5 separate regions of the Homo sapiens genome follow, and all the other regions are linked to region 1. The links are contacts of gene promoters, found by promoter capture Hi-C in blood cells and fetal thymus (Javierre and others, 2016). All regions are on one chromosome and are shown on one strand. Each heading gives the region's core, a stretch centred on a gene start or on the middle of the fragment in contact. The rest is flanking DNA. Distances are from core to core; before and after follow the strand shown. Region 1 holds the start of MR1 (major histocompatibility complex, class I-related). Region 2 has its middle 15 kb from the start of OVAAL. Region 3 overlaps LOC107985232 (a long non-coding RNA gene). Region 4 has its middle 77 kb from the start of CACNA1E. Region 5 has its middle 99 kb from the start of CACNA1E.

Region 1 (3,910 bases), core at 944-3,443:
TATTCAGGGAAGACAGCATTACAGAAGAACATAGCTACTGCCAAAGACATCACAGAAAGTGGGGAAGGAGCAAGAAAGATGTATCCCAGCCTCTCTTTCCTCCCTGCTCTCTGACATCTCTCCTTTCAGTGTCTCCCATTGTATGAACCCAAGCAGAAATCAGCTTGCAAGAGAGTCTAGGTGATGCAGTCTAGCAGTCAGCCTCAAGGACACAGAACAGAACAGAGAAGGATGCACTCTAAGGAGTCAGAAGGAGAACAGCCAGCACCAAGTGACCTTCCCTTGCCTTTATAACTTACTTGTTTTATTTCCTGTCCCCCCAATTATCAAAGTGACAAGTCTTCACACCCAAAGGAGCAATGACATTGTGGAACAGCCCTGGACCGAGGGCCAGAAGATCTGCAGTCTCCTTCAGGTTGCTCCTTATGTGAGCGTGGTCACTCTCTAGGCCTAGAGAAAAATCTAGGCCTCATCTTTAAATGGGGATATTTTCTTCACCTACTACAAATAGTCAGTGAGATTGTCATAGGAGATAATATGTTTAAGGAATATTATTCCATATTATTGGAGAGTTCTTTGAGAATCACATGCAGGTAATATATAAGCTTTATTATTTCCAAAAATATCACCCTTTGCCTCTCTCCTCCTTTCCTCTTTCATCTTCTGCCTCTTACCCTCACCCCCAATCTTTCCCATAAATGATGACACTTTCTGGATTAAATTTTCATGGAAGCAGAGACTATGTTTGTCTTGTTCGCTGCCATATCCCCCAAAGTGCCTGGCACATAGTAGGCCATCAATCAATATTTGAACAATTAATATATGGATTTTTTTTTTTTGAGATGGAGTCTCACTCTGTCACCCAGGCTAGAGTGCAGTGGCATGATCTCGGCTCACTGCAACCTCCGCCTCCTGGGTTCAAGTGATTCTCCTGCCTCAGTCTCCCGAGTAGCTGGGATCACAGGTGCGCACTGTGCACAGCTAATTTTTTGTATTTTTAGTAGAGATGGGTGTGCCGAGCTAATTTTTTGTATTTTTAGTGAGATGGGGTTTCACTATGATGGCCAAGCTGGTTTCAAACTCCTGACCTCAAGCGATCCGTCTGCCTCGGCCTCTCAACGTGCTAGGATTACAGGTGTGAGCCACCACTCCCAGCCATATGATTTAAAATTTTTTTATTTGTATAAATTTATGATGTACACATGCAATTTTGTTATAGCATAGATTGTGTAGTGGTCAAGTTGGGGCTTTAAGGTATCCATCACCCAAGTAACACACATTGTACCCATTAAGTAATTTCTAATCATCCACCCCCCTCGCCCTTCCAAATCTCCATGGTCAGTCATTCCACTCTCTATGTGCATGGGTGATTTGAAAGAACTCCTTCCTCTCATGTTCATCAGTCACACCTATGGTGGTGGCCAAGTCTAAGTTCTGGACACTGCCCACCAGTACCAGTCCTCAGCCCAGGGAGCAAGTGATTAGGGCAGAGAAGCCTGGTGGTTCTAGCCCATGGGCCCTTTCCCCTATTTGAGGCAACAGAAGGCATTTGCTTCCCCAGTGACTTGAGCTCCCCGAATAATGAAAAACTCTCCCTTCTACTTGATTAATACTTCTCACAGTCAGTAAACAAACCCAGAGCCATGGTTTTATCTTTCTTGGATCTTTTATTACAGGTAGGGCTTGTGTTGAGGAAAAACATAAATAAACCTGAACAATGGATCTACTCCACTGTTAATGCCCCTGAAACTCTGACTACATCCTCATGAGACTCTGGAAGTTAGAAAAGAGGAGAAACAAAAGTAAAAGAAAAAATATGAGCAGAAAAGAAAGGAGGCCATGCTCAGAGGGAAAGTGAGGAAGTTCCAGAGTCTTTCTAGAACGGCTCCCCCTCCCTCAGAAGGTGGTGACATCAAAATCCTACAAATATGAACTGGGAAACTGTTCAGGCAATCCATTGCTCCTGGAGTCTGAGTGTAATACATACACGTTTCTGCCCCTGGCTTCTATATTTTTCACCACAAGTTTTAGGAAGAAAAGCTGTGCCTTCTAGGCTGCCTCGACTTTGGAGTTAGGAGAGAAGAGGACGTGGGATACTCACGGGAATCGCTGTGCTTCACCATTAACACAATGATGAGAGGTAACAGGAACGCCATCAGTTCCCCCATAGTCCTTCTCTTTCCGGGTTCTTTTAACCAAAAACTGACAGGTCCCTTCTGAGAACCTCTTGGTGACACACAAGGCCTTCTCCCAATAAGAACAGGGGAAGATATGCAGTGTCATCAGTTGCTAGGTTAAAAAAAAAAGATAAAATGAAAGCATGAACACCTTCTTCGGTAACTTTTAAGTCTTTGCTGGTTTCAGACACTGCTTGCTCCTTTTGGTGTATCTATCTTCACCCTATTCCCAATTTTTAAATATTTATGGAGCATAGTCATGTTCAAAGCACAGAGAAACAAAGATTAATCATATCTGGTCAATCAGGGAGCTCAAGCTGCTGCCTCTGCTTCCCTGGAGCTTAGAATTTTGCTTAAGGGTCAGTAAGAAAGAGTCACAGTTCCCACGGCTTGGAACTCCCTGCTCTGGCTCCCTATGATGCTGAAGTCTCTGTCTGAGATAGCAGGTGTCACTTAGATTGTCCCGTAATCTTCAACTTAGGTCTGTCCTCCCTGCTACTCTAGCACCCAGCACAATAAGCTCAAAACACTTACTGAATAAAAGAAGGCAAGAGAAAGGCCTACAGAAGATTCTGAGGGGCAGCCACTCAGCTTGCTCAATCAGCAATCCCCAAGATCAAGCTGTGGCTACACTGTCATAAGGAGCACATGACAAGCTGGAAAACAGCAGCTTAAGCTTGTCCAGGGAGCTAGGGAACAGGCCCAGACAGGAAAGAGGAAGTAGACATGAAGGGGAGAGGTGAATGGAGGCATGGCCATGAGGCAGGCAGGCTTGAGCTGGGTTCAGGGACCTGGGTTTGCCTCCCCACTATTTGACCATGGGCAGAATCCCAAATTGCACCAAGGCCTGATTTCTTCAACTTTAAAAGCAAATCCTGTCATATATTTCACAGAGTTGTTGAAGGATCAGAAGTTCTGTTTATGATGCATTTAGTAGGTAGTAGAACCTTATGTACCGGTTGTATGGTAGGTTGAGAATTGTCGCCCCAAAGATGTCCACAACCTAATTGCCAGAACCTGTGGATATATTACCTTAAATGGCAAAAACAAAATAAAACAAAACAAAACCCTTGGCAGATATGATTAAATTAAGGATCTTGAGACAGAGAGCTATCCTGGATTATCTGGTGGACCCAGTGTAATCAGAGGGGCCTTATTAGAGGGAGGCAAAAGGGTCAGAGTCAAGGAGATGTGACAATGGAAGCAAAGGTCAGAGTGATGATGCCATTGCTGAAAGAAGGACATGAGCCAAGGAACGCAGATGGCCTCTAGAACTAGAAAAGAGAAGGAACAGATTCTCCTTAGAGCCTCCAGAAGGAACACAACACTTTGATTTCAGCTGATAGGACACATTTTTGGACTTCTGTCCTCCAGAACTTTGAAAGAATAAATTTGCATTGTTCGAGGCCACTAAGTTGGTGGTAATTTGTTATAGCAGCAACAGGAAACTAATAGGTCTACCTTTACCCAGAATAAAATAAGAAGCCAAATAATGAAATTAACATTTGGCAATCTCTCAGCGGCCCCTGGCACCTTCTCTTCTCAGATCTTTGTATTTCTCTCTTCCTTTCCTTTCTGTTTCTTTACATTGTTTTTCCTTTTGTTACTCATTTAACAAATACAGTCACCTGGATTTCTCTTTTGGAAAACTCCCCCAATATTCCCAAATGTCTCTCAGCACTGGAATTCCATGGCCATGTATTTTTTCCTTTGAATTTTTGTTAATATCTTGT
Region 2 (3,910 bases), core at 657-3,156, 490 kb after region 1:
AATATCTTTATTTATTTATTTTTTGTTTGTTTGTTTGGTTTGAGACAGGGTCTTGCTCTGTCACCCAGGCTGGAGTGCAGTGGTATGATCATGGTTCACTGCAGCCTCAACCTCCCAGGCTCAAGCAATCCTCCCATCTCAGCCTCCCAAGCAGCTGACACTATAAGCACACACTACCATACCTGGCTAAGTTTTAAAATTTTTTGTAGAGATGGGGGTCTCACTATGTTGCCCAGGCTGGTCTCAAACTCCTGCAGCCAAACAATCCTCCTGCTTTGGTCTCCCAAATCACTGGGATTACAGGCGTGAGCCACTGCGGCCCAGCTGAAAAATCTTTGGATCTCAGCACAAAGCCCGGGTAACCAGCTCCAAATCTTCCTTCTGTCCTGGTGAGTCTCTCTTTGGGGGTTATATAGAAAAAATAAACTGTTTTTCCCTATACTCATGCTCACTACAGAGCACTTCTGACGCCAGATGTGTGGGATTTTTTTCCCAACACCTATTCCTCACTTCTCAGAAGACACCAACCAGGTGTTCCACAAGTCAACTCAATTCTGACACTATCTACCTGAAGTTAGCATCTGATCTCACAAGCTAAGGGCATGATTTCATGAGACTGCCCCCTACCCTAGATGTCAACTGCAAGTGGTGAGTCCCCAGTTTACCCACAACTTTGCCTGACTTGGCTCCAGATCAGAGGTTCCCAGGACCCTCTCCACAGGTTTGACCGTTTGCTATTGCAGCTTGCAGAACTCAGGAGAACAGTTTCCTTACTAGATTACCAGTTTATTAGGACATATTAAAGAATACAAACAAACAACCACATGAAGAGACACATAGGGCAAGGTCTGGAAGGGTCTTGAGCATAGGAATCTTCTGTCTCCATGAACGAGTTCTGCCACCCTCTCAGTATGTGGGTGCAGTCTCGCTCACGAACACCAAAGCTCTCCAAACCCCATACTTTAGGGATTTGTATGGAGGCTTCATTAGGTAGGCATTACTAACTCAATCTCTAGCTCCTCTCCCCTCCCTGAAGGACAAAGGATGGGACTAAAAGTTTCCAGTGTCTACTCATGGGGCCCCAGAGGGCAGAGACCAAATATGTATTTCTCTCTCTGTTTTTTTGTTTTGTTTTGTTTTTTGTTTTGTTGTTGTTGTTGTTGTTTGTTTAGACAGGGTCTTGCTTTGTCACCAGGCTGGAGTGCAGTGGCACAACCATGGCCCACTACAACCTTGACCTCCAGGGTTCAATCAATCCTCTCACCTCAGCCTCCCAAGTAGCTGGGACTACAGGAGTGTACCACCATGCCCAGCTAATTTTTGTACTTTTTGTAGAGACAGTTTTTGCTATGTTGCCCAGTCCAGTCATGAACTCCTGGGTTCAAGCAATCCTCCCGCCTCTGCCACTCAAAGTGCTGGGATTACAGGCATGAGCCACTGTGCCCAGCCCAAATATGTATTTCTTACACGTCACAGGAATATTCTTTCCTCAGAGGGACTGGTTCATCCCTACCACAGCAGATCCAAAAGTATTGTCTGAGACCTGGCTCTGACAAACCCAGTCGGCTCCATTTCCCTGGAACCTTGGCAGTGCTCTGGTGAACGTGTGGCATAGGCAGGAAGCCCCTCGGCATGTAGCTGCCCTGGCTGGGCACTGAGAGTGTGAACAAACCTCAGAGTCAGGCCAGGAGTCCATCACAGCAGGGACCTGAGCTGGCAAGGACGTTGCTGCAGAGTAAACAAGTTCTGTTGGATTGTGCAGTGCCAGCTTTTGACAGCCCTGATTGACTGGCTTGGGTCATTTGCCTGCCCTGAACTAATGACAATGGTCAGAATGATGGTGTACTCAGATTGGCCAATCTGGGTCAGCATATTTCCCACTGGAGCCAGAAGAGGGATGGGGTACTGTGATTGACAACCTCACCAGGGCCTGAGGGGGTGAGGAGGGATATATTCCTAAAGAAAAGAGGGAGCGTGTCATTAAAATAAAAGGGGAACTGCCGGCCAGGGGCGGTGGCTCATGCCTGTAATCCCAGCACTTTGGGAGGCCGAGGCGGGCGGATTACCTGAGGTCAGGAGTTTGAGACCAGCCTGACCAACATGGAGAAACCCCGTCTCTACTAAAAATACAAAATTAGGCAGGTGTGGTGGTGCATGACTGTAATCCCAGCTACTCGGGAGGCTGAGGCTGGAGAATCGGTTGAACCCGGGAGGCAGAGGTTGCGGTGAGCCGAGATCACACCATTGCATTCCAGCCTGGGCAAAAAGAGCACAACTCCGTCTCAAAAAAAAAAAAAAGTAAAAGAGGAACTACCATTTCTTGGTGAACTATTCTTTCAATGCTTTCTCATTGCCTATGCAAGTCCAGTGTTTCTGCAAGATTCCCATTTCTTGCAGCAAGTGGAAGACTGACAAAGGGTTGCTGTATTTCTTCCTGCTCCAAGAAAAAGATTAACATTATTTTACTACAACCCACTTGGAACATTGCTCTGTTGAACTGTTAGTGGGAATACAACCTAGCTTTTCTTTACAAATATGGTTGAGTTACAAAATAATATGATGGACTAAAATAGAAAGGACACCAAATTCCTTTATGCTTCTCAAAATCAGGTGATTAATGGAAAAGACATCTGAGGAGAATATGGGAAGAAAATGGCATCATTCCCACGGCACAGAAAGGGGTCTTCTTCCAGGGGGCCAGGTGCAGTCACTATTTTATTAATTTTTATAAAATCCCAGAGTAGGGAGGGAAAAGATAAATATAGAAGTATGATTCTTCCTCTCCCTCTCCCTCTCCCCCTCCTCCCCCTCCCCTCTTCTTCTCTCCCCCTTTTTCTCCCTCCTCCCTCCTCCCCTCTTCTTCTCCCTCTCCCCCTCCTCCTCTCCCTCTCTCTCTCAATCCATTTCAGAAATTCAGGAACTGAGGCCAAGGTGGCACCGAGGAGTGTTCTTGGTTGCTATGGATATGTTCAGCATCTGACATTTTTTCTGAGTGGGGCCTGGGAGAGAGGAGATGTCTCTGATGCCTGAGTCATTAAGGGAATGTAGGTACTTTAGTCTTCTTCAGAGTGCCGTCTGAGAATAGACATGGCTGCATACTCTTCATCCACTTCTATTTGTCCAGTAGATTCAGAGAAACAGTGCTCAGCCACGTTGTAGATAATTTAAGTTTGTTTTCATCCTCCCTATTCCCAGGGCCCTCTGCTGTCTCTAGTTTTTGCCAGCAAGGGAAGGAAGAACGTGATCTTAGTCCTTTCTGCATTAGGGTGAATAAGCTGCAGTCATAGCCAAGAATTTTAACACTGTAAACTGAGCTCTAGATGTGGAAAAGAAAGACCTCACCCGTTTGGGTAGAATTTTAGGTAAAGAAAGAGGGAGGGGAAATATTTTGGGAGCAGAGACAGCCCTTCCCAAGCCTCCCACAATCACACCATGCCTATTCCTAAAAAGCACTGTTAAGAGAATCTTGTCATTTTAGGGCATGTGAACTCCAGAGAAAACAGTAATTTCTATTTTTTTCTCTCTACACGTTTTCTCTGTTTCCAGAGGAAAGACTAGCCAAAGACTAGCCCTGCTCTGCTGGAGACAGGATAGCACATTCCAAGAAGCAACGGGGGTGTAACATGGCCTGGATGGCACCCAGCGAGCAGAGGTGGAATCCTGCAGCCTGTGTCTCGGTTGGATCTCTCTCCTCTTCCCCCAGTTCTTGACAGAGCACTGGCCTGTCTCACTTTACAGCCCTCTCTTTCCCCCAGACTCCAGGATACAGAATTCACTTTCACCAGAAACTCTCACCACCTCCAGCCCCGGTAATGTTCACCTCTGGTCCAGGTTTCAATCGCCCCTCATGGCCTCCCTTGCTATCAGTATTCAATCCGTTGCCCATGGCCTACCAATCTTGAGTTTCTAC
Region 3 (3,910 bases), core at 1,048-3,547, 390 kb before region 1:
ACCACCTCTAATCCACATTAAAAAGGGCCCAGAGAGGTGAAGAGGCCTGGCCAAGGTCACGCAGCTTCCTATAGGTAGTTTCCTTTACAGAAACAATTCTTTTTTGTTTTTTTTAAGATGGAATCTCACTCTGTTGCCCAGGTTGGAGTGCAGTGTTGTGATCTCGGTTGACTGTAACCTCTGCTTCCCAGGTTCAAGCGATTCTCTTGCCTCAGCCTCCCAAATAGCTGGGATTACAGGCGTGTGCCACCATGCCCAGCTAATTTTTATATTTTTAGTAGAGATGGGGTTTCACCATATTGGCCAGGCTGGTCTTGAACTCCTGACCTCAAATGATCCACCCACTTCAACCTCCCAAAGTGCTGGGATTACAGGCATGAGCCACCGCACCCGGCCTCCTTTACAGCAACATTTCTTGAGCAACCCTATGTGAGCCTGGCCATGCACCAATGCCAGATTTAATGATATCCTTTCCAGGAGTGTGCATGTTATGAAAGAGGGCCATGGGTTAGAGTAATATTGATACGCAATCAGTCTTCCTGGGGTCAGTCCTCCCCATCAAAGGAACTTTGGTTTGAAAGCAGGCACCTCCCTGAGACAACTACACCCAACACAGCTTGGTGAGTGTCACTGTCCTGCAGCAGAACCAGAATCACAAACCCACCACTGGGGCCCAAGAGCAGCACACACCAACCATCACCACCACCTGGACACTAAAACTCCCATTCCTGCCCCCACTCCCAGCCTGTTTCTCTCCCCTACCCCACAGCAGGCACAAAGGGATCCCTGAAGGAACTTCTGAATTCACAAGCCTCTTGCAAGCGCCCCTCCACCCCACCCAGAAAGGCACCAGGGCTCTCCACTCTGTGCCGGATGCCCCTAGCTGAGCCACAGTGTCCCCAGAGCCTTGCCCTAGCTCTGGATAAAACCGAAGCTGTCAGCATGCTAATTAGGACCTTGAGAGGGTGGGCTCATGGACTGACAATTAATAACTCCATCTCTCTGTTTCCTGCTGGCATATTATTAATTCATCGGGCCTCTCCAGTGGGGCCAGAGAGATAACACAGACTGTGAAAGTTCACATTTCAATTTGAGGCTGAGATGCTGAGGAGGGGTGTTGAGAGAAGTGCCAGTCCTCCGGAGAGTGAGGGCATAGCGTGGGAAAGACTTGTCCACAGTCCCACTTCTAGGACTTGACCCTACAGAAATGAAAGTGCACATCCTAAAGGCATGTAGGGGAGGCTTACTACAGCACAGCTGGTAACTGCAAAGCAACTGGGAACATCCATTGATAGGGTTGCTGGAATAAACTGTGGTTCAGTCATGCTGAGGAATACTCTGCAGCGTGAAAGAGATGTTATGGACATCTTTCCAGAAATGGCCAAAGAAAGATGCACACCATATCCTGTAATTTTTAAAAACTAAAAGAATAAGAGCAAAACAAAGACCTATATGTGTAATATAATTTCATGTTCATCACAGAAAGAGGGAAGGGGAGGAGGGAGGGAGGGAGGGGGAATTTTTCCCAGCTTAAGTATAAACACAGGGGAAAGAAGCAACCATAACAGATGGCAGCTGGGGGAGGGGCTGAGATGAGAGAGGAGTTGAGATGGGGAGAGGTTGAGGTGGGGGAGGGGTTGAGATGGAGGAGGAGTTGAGATGGGGGAGGAGTTGCAATGGTAGAGGAGTTGAGGTGGGGGAAGGGTTGAAGTTGGAGAGGAGTTGAGGTGGGGGAGGGGTTGAAGTTGGGGAGGGGTTGAGATGGAGGAGGAGTTGAGGTAGAGAGCAGTTGAGATGGGGAAGTCTTGAGATGGGGAAGGGTTGAGGTGGGAGGGGTTAGGATGAGGAAGAGGCTGAGATGAGGGAGAAGTTGAGGTGGAGGGGGTTGAGATGGAGAAGGAATGAGGTGAGGAGGGGTTAAGATGGGGGAGGAGTTGAGATGGCGGTGGAATTGAGATGGGAGGGGTTGGGACGGGCAGGGGTAGAGATAGGGAAGGAGTTGAGATGAGTGAGGTTGAGATGGGGCAGAGGTTGAGATGGGTGAGGGTTGAGATGGGTGTGGTGAGATGGGTAGAGTTCAGATGAGGTAGGCTTGAGATGGGGAGAGGGTGAAATAGGGAGGCGTTGAGATGAGTGTGGTTGAGATGTTGAAGGGTCAAGTTGGGGAGACACTGAGATGGAGAGGGGTTGAGTTGTGAAGGGGTTGAGATAGGAAGGGATTGAGTAAGGAAGGGGTTGAGTTGTGAAGGGGTTGAGATGGGAAGGGGTAGAGATGTGAAGAAGCTGAGGTGGGAAGGGGCTGAGATGGGAAAGGGTTGAGATGGGAAGGGGTTGAGTTGTGAAGGGGTTGAGATGGGCAGCGGTTGAGCTGTGAAGGGTTGAGATGGGAAGGGGTTGAGTTGTGAAGGGGTTGAGATGTGAAGGGGTTGAGTTGTGAAGGGGTTGACATGTGAAGGGGTTTAGATGGGAAGGAGTTGAGATGGGAAGGGGTTGAAATAGGAAGGGGTTGAGTTGTGAAGGGGTTGAGATTGACAGGGGTTGAGACGGGAAGGGGCTGAGTTGTGAAGGGGTTGAGATGGGAAGGGGTTGAGATGGGAAGGGGTTGAGTTGTGAAGGGGTTGAATTGTAAAGGGGTAGAGATGGGAAGGGGTTGAGATGGGAAGGGGTTGAGTTGGGAAGGGGTTGAGATGGGAAGGGATTGAGTTGTGAAGGGGTTAAGTTGTGAAGTGGTTGAGATGGGAAGGGGTTCTGTTGTTAAGGGGTTGAGTTGTGAAGGGGTTGAGACAGGAAGGGGTTGAGTTTTGAAGGGAATGAGATGGGAAGGGGTTGAGTTGTGATGGGGCCATGATGGGAATGGGGTTGAGTTGTGAAGGGGTTGAGTTGTGAAGTGGCTGAGATGGGAAGCGGTTGAGATGGGAAGGGGTTGAGATGAGCTGGGTTGAGTTAGGGAAGGGTTCAGATGAGGAGGAGTTTAATTGATAAGGGTTGACATAGGAAGGGCTTGAGACGGATAGTGGCTGAAATGGGGAGGACTTGAGATGGAGAGAGGTTGGGTTGAGGAAGGGTTGAGATGGGGTAGGACTGGGTTGGGGAATTGTTGAGATGGAGTGACAGGAGGGGGATGCAGTTAGACCTGACCACCTGACCCCAGTGCACCCAAGCTGGGTGTGTCCAGCCAACACTGTCTCCACACCAGGAGCACTGTCCCCAGAACTGACCACTGGTCTGTCCTACTCCAAGAGCAGAAAGAGAATTTACTGAATTCCTCTGTTTTCTTTATAAATTTGGGAAGGGTTGCAGGTTCCTCATCACCTGATCAGCAGGCAGTAATGCTGCCTTTTTAGAACAGCAGTGAGGCTGAGTAGTGGGATGTGAGCACAGCTGCAGAGGGTCTGCAAGGAGGTCCCCAGGAGAGGCGGGGGCAGGGACAGAGGGGAAAGGGGGACAAGCCCTCTTCCTCACTCACACGCCAACCCTGCATGCCTTCATTCCCTCCCTGCTACAGGCTTCGAGAGAAAAAGAGGAAGAGAAAGATGGTTAAAGGAGCTAAAAGCAGAAGAGAAGAGAAGGAGGACAGTGTGGCTGGGGTATGAGCGGCTGAGGTGGGGTCCTCAGAAGGGTGCCCCACGCCCACCTCCTTCTCTGCGCCTCAGCCTTCTCACCTGCACCTTCAATGAGAAGTTATGTGCGATTAATTTTAAAGGTCTTTTCATCGGTGCCTGGAATTCTATAGGTGTCTAACTCTGCTTGGGGTCGGGGGGGGGAGCGGGGGTGTACAGCAATTTCATAAATATTTTTTTCAGCCAAAAAGGCCAAAGCGAATTCCTCCAATTATGTTCACCTCCTCCACAATGAGCACTTCCTTTTCTGCACGTGTCTTCACCCATCCCCTCACATCCAAGAGGAAAAC
Region 4 (3,910 bases), core at 571-3,070, 370 kb before region 1:
CACAAGCACCCTGCACTGCCAAAAACACTCGAGCTCATAGCCTACTTCTGAAATTGTCTTCCCTGTCACCCTTCCAGAGTCAAAGTCAAGATCTTTGTCCATGAAGAAATATTATGTCCTTTGCACCATCTTTCCCTTTATACCCTATCAAGAGTTTTACTTCTTAATTCATCTATTTTTTACTGCTTTAGAAATAATGGTCCATGCACCCCTTTGGCTTATCTGTGCCTCTCAGACCCTTAAAGATGAGTCTGTCACATTGAGGACATTCATCTTCCTTTCCTTGGGTGCATGCCCATCCTATTCCCACCCCTCCACCACTCTCTTTCTGATTCCTCCAGAACATGTGCATCCTCCAACTTACCTTGTGAGAAGTGGATACACCAGCAAGTCAATGAAACTCATGCTTTTCTAAGTCTACTATCTTTATTCCCTGAAAGTTCTGAGTTCAGCAAAGAAATCTCCACTGCATAGACCACCAAGCACATTGGCTAAGAGATAGTGGACAGAAATGGAACTGATGAACACTACGAGGTGAGTGGTAGGCATACAAGTGTCCCCAAGCTGGCCCTGAGCTATCTTGGCTCTGTACCCTCTGTCTGCCATAGGCTGGATGAGGGTAAAGATGTCCTAATTCCCACCTGTTAGAAATTAAAAGTTATAAGATGGAAACAAATTTTGAGATATGATACTCTACAACTTATATATCGTGTTGAGTTAATTCTAAAAATGATTCTCTTGAGAGAGAACTGATACAGTAAAATGGGTTTCCTGCCCAGCAATAGGAATGGCAGGGAATGACCTACTCAGCATACTCACCCGCCTACTCTGAGAGGAAACATTCCCTGTGCAGAAATAAATATTCATCTAGGGATTTTTCTTAGCTGAGCCAGCCTGCTACCTGACTGAAAAAGGAGGAGTAAAAGCTGGGCATGATTTTCATTTACCATGACTTCCTAAGACCGCACTTCTCAATCTCTAATGTACATCAGAACCATCTACATTGCTGGTTAAAAATGCAGATTCCTGGATGTCTCTTCAGAGATTCTCATGCAGTAGATCTTGGGTGGGTTCAGGAACCTACATTGTTAATAGACACCCTTTCCCCCTAGGAACCATGTCTTCAAACACTGTCCTAAAAGCAGTGTGTCAGCCTGAGAGGTTGTGCTAAGTTGGTAAGAGGTATTGTCCTGGATGAGTCAGGTTGCTAAAAGCCACTAGAACAGTGTCCTTCTCAATCATTTCCAGTCTATATCATGAAAAGAACATAGCAAAACACACCCAGGAAGTGTTCCCTGACCCACCCCCACTCCCTGCAAAGCTCTATTCTCCCCTGGACTGGCATCAGTTTTTGCCTACCCCACATTCCTCTCCATGTGCCTATGTTGTTATGGTGACTGTTCAAGGATGGGCTAATGTCCAACAGCAATTTAACAGGCTGGTGCATTCTGAATGTAAACCAAGACTCAAGGAAAACACAGCTTCAAATATGGAGTGTGCACTAAGTCAGTCTGAGTCTCTGCGGAGGAGTTGAAAGAGTCCGTATTCTGGTATCAGAAGCTCTGGGTTCAGGCTACATTTCTGCCACTTGCTAGTCAAGCAACCTTTAGCTTGACTTCTCTAGGTCAGTTTTCTCACATAAACAATGAGGATAATAATATAACCTGCCCTACAGAAGCCTGTGATAAGAATCAACATAGTATCTGGGGAGGAACTTGGAACTGTAAGTTAGGTAAATATGGGGCAAAAAAATAGAAGTTAGGAGCCTACGCTCTGAAGCTGGGTATGAATCCCAACTCCACGCTCACCAACTGAATCCCTCGGCAAATTACATAGCCTTGCATATCTTAATCTGTAAAATGATCATACATCATTTTACAGATTAAGTAGATACATGTAAAGTAGATACATCCACTTTGGGAGGCTGAGGCGGGTGGATCAAAAAGTCAGGAGTTTGAGACCAGCCTGGCCAAGATGGTGAAACTCTGTCTCTACTAAAAAGACAAAAAAATTAACCGGGCATGCTGGCAGGTGCCTGTAATCCCGGCTACTCAGGAGGCTGAGGCAGAGAATTTCTTGAACCCAGGAGGTAGAAGTTATAGCAAGCCGAGATCGCGCCACTTCACTCCAGCCTGGGAGACAGAACGAGACTCCATCTCAAAAAAAGAAAAAAAAGAAAGGTAGATACATCATAAAGTTGTGAGAATTAAATACAGAAGCTCATAGAACAGCACCTGGCCATAAAAAATGCCCAATAAATATTAGCTACCATTTTTATTATGTAAAATAACTTATGTTTGTATTAAACAACCTCAAAATATCTATAGCTTAATAAAATAAAAACTTATTTCTCTCCAATATCACTGTCTAATGATGCAAGTTGGCCTGGAAGATGGGAAAGAGAGACTCTGCTCTACATAGTCATTCAGGGAACCAGGTTCCTTTCATTCAGTGGCTCTGCCATCCCCTGGGGAAGGGTTAAGCAAATTTTTTTCTTAAAGGGTTAGATAGTAAATATTTTAGCCATTGCAGGCCATAAGATCTTAGTTGCAACTACACAACTCTGCCTTTTCAGTGTGAAAGCAGCATAGACAATATATAAACAAATGGATACGGCTGTATTTCAATAAAATTTTTTATTTACAAAAACAGGCACCTGGTCCTGCTAACACCCAAGCCCTGGGCCTCAGAGTCTTCCTAAACTCTTTTTCTCTCCAGCTGGGAGACAAAGAAAAAGACTAAGCACTTGAAAGATTTTGCATGAGGCTTACAGGCAAGGCCTAGAAGTGGTGTATATCAACTCTCCACATTCCATTAGCCAGAATTCAGTCACCTGGCCCTGCTTAACCACTGGAGAGCAGAAATGTAGTAATTGTAAGCATTCAGTAAGTGCTTATAAAAGGAAGGAGTGAGGGGAGGAGAGAGGGAGAAAGGTAAACAGGTACGGAGGAAAGAAGATATTTTGCAGTTTCCCATACTTTTCTAAGGAACTTAAGGGAGGTAGAAAACTAAGGACAGAAAACTACTCCTTGGACAGTCTCTGGAAGGAAAAGTCACTAGGAGTCAGTAATAGTTAACTGGAAAGAAAACAAAATGCTACAACCCCTTGGACTTGGAGAAACAAATTGAAATGCCAGTTATCTAGACTGGGATAGAGAAGGGCTAGGGGCTAACTTCCAGAAGCCTCTATATAGTCCCTGAAGGGTGTTTGTCCAAACCACTGCAGCATCAGGCTCAGACAATGGCATCTGCAATGCTGCAAAATCTTCTCCAATAGCCTCTTTTCTATCAAAACATTTCTCAAGTATCAATCCCAGTAGCACTGGGGATCTCCAATTAGAGCCTCGTAATATCCCTCCCACCCACTCAGACCAAGATTACCTGAAGTGATTTTCTTGGAGGTGATTGTCTTTTAAAGGGAGTACGTTGGTACTGCAGTAAAGTTATGGACAGCACTGTTTGTGCTGGCAGATTAAATCTCCTCTCTGAGTAGGGTCATAACAGCAGCACAGGCTTTCAAAGGTACTAGCCCAGGGGCAACCCCTCATGCTGCAGCTCTAAGTAGGGAACACGGTTTGGACTGGGAGAGCCAGTCTGAGTTGCCACCTAGGGAAACAAGAACAAAGCCCAAAGCTGGACATATGGGGCCTACAATGTGGTCTTCATGGAGGACACCTCACAGCCCTCGAGTGCCTCACATGTTGGCCAGTTGTGAACCTCTGTGCTGGTGGCCTGAGCTCTTCCCCATCTGGCTGCCAGGCCTGGCCCCTTCTGGTCAGATTCCATCTGACCTATCTCAGAACCCAGCCTTTTTGCACACCTCAGCTGTGATCAAACACGTGGGAAGTTCAAAGAAGCTTGACAATGAGTGGGAAGATCTTGGGTTAGGATCTGGATACTCAGGAGCTGA
Region 5 (3,910 bases), core at 939-3,438, 350 kb before region 1:
TTGTTGCCAGGCTAACTTCTCACCGTCAAAGTATCCCTTCCCTGGGATACTTTGGATATCCTTCCCTCCTGACCCCTTGGATAAGAAGAGGTCTCTTGCTTTGCATTCTCAGAGAAGTCTGTACTTAGACCATCAGAGCCCCACTATCAGTTGTTCACTGATTTATACCAAGTGCCTAGAACATTGCCTGGCTCATAGTAAGCTCTCCTTATTGATTTACAAATGAAAGAATGAATGAACAAATAACACTTTGTTAGAATTCCTTGTGTTGTTGATTGTCAACCATCATAGTTTGCAAATTACATGAGAACAAAAATCTTATTTACCTCATTTGCTACTTTATCTCTACTCTCTTCAGTATATATATGGTAGATGATCAAAATTATGAGGAATAAGAGTAAAATAAATGAAGGAAGGGAGGAAGAGAGGGAGGGAGAGAGGAAAGAAAGGAAGGTAAAGAGAGGAGGAAAGGAACAAAGGAAGGAAAGAATGGAGAAACGGAGGGAGGGAGGGAGGGAAGAAAGGAGGGAGGGAAGTAAGAGAGGAGAGGAGGAAAGAGGAAGGAAAGGAAGGAAGTGGAGTAGGGAAGGAAATAAAAGTAAGGAAAACAAAAGGAAGGAAGGGGTAGGGGCAGAAATGACGGATTCAAAGTCCCTGCCTTAGGAAACAGGAAAAACAATAGTAATTAAGTAACAGAATAGCTGGAGAGTTCATGGCAGCAAGCCGTCTAGCTTTGGCTATTTACAATGCTAGAACAATCATCTCCCCATCACCAATTCAAGGACGCGCTTATAAAGCTTCCTTGAATATCCCCATCCCTGTCACCTCCACTCCCCAACCCAGTGAAATGAAAAATAGAAGAAGTGCAAATTAAGCTCTTTATTACAATTAGCAGCTGAACACAGGCATCACCTGTCTTGCTGTAATGTGATATTCCATCGGAGATGTTCATAATCATAACCCAATGAGGGAGACTGTGAACCAATTCACTGCCTGTTTTTCAACAGCTTTATATGAAATGATTTTTATTACTTGCACTCGCTAGCTATCTCCAAGGAACTCAAGGCAATTTACAAACTTTTAATTCTCATGACACCCTGGCAGTGTAGGAGGTAAGAGTCTAGAATTTATAGATGAAAGGAGAAGAGCCATGCAACAGGATTAAGTGTCTTTCTCTGCTGAGACAGGAGAGACTCACCCTGTCCCCAGAGACCGCCCTTTGTAAGCTGAAGGGAGGGTATTTACAGTGATATTCCCAAAATCCATCTCAGCAGAGACATCAGGGCAAAATCTAGGCTGGAAAGAGTGAAGGTAAGTGAAATGGAAGGCAGTAGTGATAGCAGGTATGGGCTTAATCATTGGTAAAGAGGAAAGAGGCAGGAAAGCAGGAAAGATTTCTTTTATTTTATTTTATTATTATATACTTTAAGTTTTAGGGTACGTGTGCACAATGTGCAGGTTAGTTACATATGTATACATGTGCCATGCTGGTGTGCTGCACCCATTAACTCGTCATTTAGCATTAGGTATATCTCCTAATGCTATCAGAGGGCAGAATGGAACATGGCAGGGTCTGGGAGGGGCTTGTACCGGGAACACCAGGAGTGAGGATCGTCCCTTCCAAGATAGGAGGAGAAGCACAAAGGGTGCAGAGAGAGAGCAGATATTTGAAAGGAGCATTTTAGAAAAAGAACCAAAACCAGAAATCGCAACTTTAAAGATGAGGAAGCCAATAATCAGAGAAGAAATGTAACTTGCCTGAGTCACACAGTGAGCTATGATGGAGAAGAAACGAGAACCCTGAGTTCACTCTGCTACCCTACATGGAAAAAGGAAGTAGTGTTGCTTGGAGGGCCTCCATTTTTCCCCAATAAAATAGGGTGAAGAAAGATTGGGAGCTCAAGAGAGGCAAAAGAAGAGTAGATTTTCCTTCTAAGAATGACACTGGATAATTGGATTTGACATTAGATACTGGGTTTGTCCAGCCACGTTGGTATCCAGCTGAGATGTATACTATATGAATTTTTAGTATAGGTGAATCAGCAGGTATCCCTCACTTTATGGCATAGATATCGCATCTCCGTGTCTTAACACCATACTGATTTCTCATGTACTTCACTGCGCAGTGCAGGTAAACAGGAGATTCTGCTCCATCCAGTCACCCAGGAACCAGAATCCTTGCATCAAAAGCTGTGGTGCCCAATGTGGCAGCCATACCCACGTAGGGCAGTTTAAATGAATTAAAATTAAATAAAGTAAAAAATGCAGTTTTTCAGTCACATTCGCTCCATTTCCAGCGCTCAGTGAGCACATGATTATCATAGTGGATAGCAGAGGCATGGAAAGTTGCATCACCGTGGAAAGTTCTGTTGGGCAGTGCTGCCCTCTGCCAGATCTCTGGCATGCAGCCAGCAGGAAATAAGAGAAAAGGCCTGGATGATGATGTAGGAGGTTTTGTGGGTCAGGTCTGGAGGTGCCACACATCCCTTTTGCCTACGCTCCACAGCCAGAGTTTGGTCACATGTTCATACCCCGTAAGGGAGGCAGGGAAATATAGTTGAGCTGTGTGCCCAGGAAGAAAAGGAAATGGGTTTAGTGAGCATTTGCCAGTTTCTGCCACAGTATATTCTAGCAAATTCCTAAAATAAAAACCTAATTTCCCAACTGAGTTCTGGAACAAAATCAGATTGATGATCCTAAAAGGAGAGTCTCTCCCCACAGACCGTTTTAAATTTTAAATGAGGAAGAGTTAAGATGGTGGTCAGGCTCCTGCTCAGTCAGAGTTTTCTAAAGGCATTTGCCACACACATACTTTCTTAGTTCTAAGCACTCCCAACTGCTCCGTTTACTACTTCTGCTTCCTTTCTGCCCCCGCTTGCCTCATCATCATACCTGTGTAGAGATAAATGAATCAGCATTCACCAGGGAATCTTAGCTCCCTTCTAATTTTTCTGTGCACCTACCACATCCAAAGGATGTATTTGACCTTGAATGAGTTCAATTAAACAACCTTCACTGGACTGTGCTATATGCATGAGCTACATGCAAGTGGGGCTGTGGGGAATAAAGAAGTGAAAGACACTATAACTCAAGGAAAGTTGGAAGTAAGTATAACAATTGGGCTGAGATAAATGCCTGAAAAGAGATACCAATGGGGAAGTTCAAAGGAATGAGAGATGCGGCCCCGGGGGGAAAGCAGAGAAAGATCCCATTAAGGAGAACACATTACAATATGGACTGTGAACACGGCCTGATTTGAACAGGCTGGAATGTGGGGAGGAGGTCCCCAGAAGAGGAGGCAGCTGTCCTGGCCTTGTCTTAAGACAAGATGGCTGGCTGTGTACTCAGAGCCAGTCTCTGGAGAGGAGTCACTTCTCCAGCTTCATCCCACCACCTAAGCCTCCGCCCCTTCTGCATGAGTCCCACTTTACAACACAGGAACCACCATTCCCTGCATCTGACTAGCAAGATAAGACCAGATCAGCTGGAGCAGAGCACCTGAGCAATGGGCTGAGCTAAAGGTTGGGTCAAGCCATGCCCTTAAAGGAAACATTGATTATGAAGCACACGGGAAGCTTTAAAGGACCACACACATTTGAGAGAAGATTGTTATTGCTATTTGCTAAGGTATTTGTACAGAGCAGAGTGGAAAATAAGGTGGTTGGTCAAGGAGTAATATTAGGCCATCCCTAACTCACTTCCAACTCTAAAATTTCAAGGCCCAAATGATTTGGTCATCAACAAGATTCCTAGACACACTGGGTTTTATCAAATCCTGCTCTTCCTACCTTAAATTCTTCCTCTCCACTGCCATTAACCTAGCCCAAGTCACTGGATGCACCTGAACTACTCAAAGAACATCTTAGCTGATTCTGGCTTCCACTCCTCCCCACTCCACAAGCACTTGTTC

The links. Contacts are between HindIII fragments. The CHiCAGO score rates a contact against its expected background, and 5 or more counts as called.
Region 2: a contact is called between a fragment that was not itself captured here and the fragment with the promoter of MR1 in region 1, in 4 of 17 cell types (naive B cells, total B cells, megakaryocytes and 1 more). The highest score is 7.9, in naive B cells.
Region 3: a contact is called between a fragment that was not itself captured here and the fragment with the promoter of MR1 in region 1, in 4 of 17 cell types (non-activated CD4 T cells, naive CD4 T cells, naive CD8 T cells and 1 more). The highest score is 7.8, in non-activated CD4 T cells.
Region 4: a fragment that was not itself captured here is called in contact with the fragment with the promoter of MR1 in region 1 in 4 of 17 cell types (non-activated CD4 T cells, naive CD8 T cells, total CD4 T cells and 1 more); the score reaches 6.7 in non-activated CD4 T cells.
Region 5: a contact is called between a fragment that was not itself captured here and the fragment with the promoter of MR1 in region 1, in 5 of 17 cell types (total CD4 T cells, activated CD4 T cells, naive CD4 T cells and 2 more). The highest score is 5.9, in total CD4 T cells.

Annotation. Positions count from the first base shown.
Region 1 is chr1:181,032,266-181,036,175 of GRCh38, reverse strand. It overlaps MR1 (major histocompatibility complex, class I-related), which reads right to left and starts at 2,193. Exons shown (of 6, transcript NM_001385161.1): 1 at 2,102-2,193. The coding sequence starts at 2,168. RefSeq lists enhancers at 2,284-2,393, 2,524-2,623, 2,824-3,013. The HindIII fragment of the contact is 2,248 bases long and covers 608-2,855 here.
Region 2 is chr1:180,542,062-180,545,971 of GRCh38, reverse strand. No RefSeq gene overlaps it. Among named protein-coding and RNA genes, the nearest start is that of OVAAL, 15 kb to the left of the region's middle. The HindIII fragment of the contact is 6,574 bases long and covers 1-3,910 here.
Region 3 is chr1:181,425,386-181,429,295 of GRCh38, reverse strand. All of the region lies in intron 1 of LOC107985232 (a long non-coding RNA gene), which reads right to left. It also overlaps a transcript of CACNA1E not described here. Among named protein-coding and RNA genes, the nearest start is that of CACNA1E, 56 kb to the left of the region's middle. The HindIII fragment of the contact is 6,743 bases long and covers 1-3,910 here.
Region 4 is chr1:181,404,664-181,408,573 of GRCh38, reverse strand. It overlaps a transcript of CACNA1E not described here. Among named protein-coding and RNA genes, the nearest start is that of CACNA1E, 77 kb to the left of the region's middle. The HindIII fragment of the contact is 4,079 bases long and covers 1-3,859 here.
Region 5 is chr1:181,382,397-181,386,306 of GRCh38, reverse strand. It overlaps a transcript of CACNA1E not described here. Among named protein-coding and RNA genes, the nearest start is that of CACNA1E, 99 kb to the left of the region's middle. The HindIII fragment of the contact is 2,778 bases long and covers 800-3,577 here.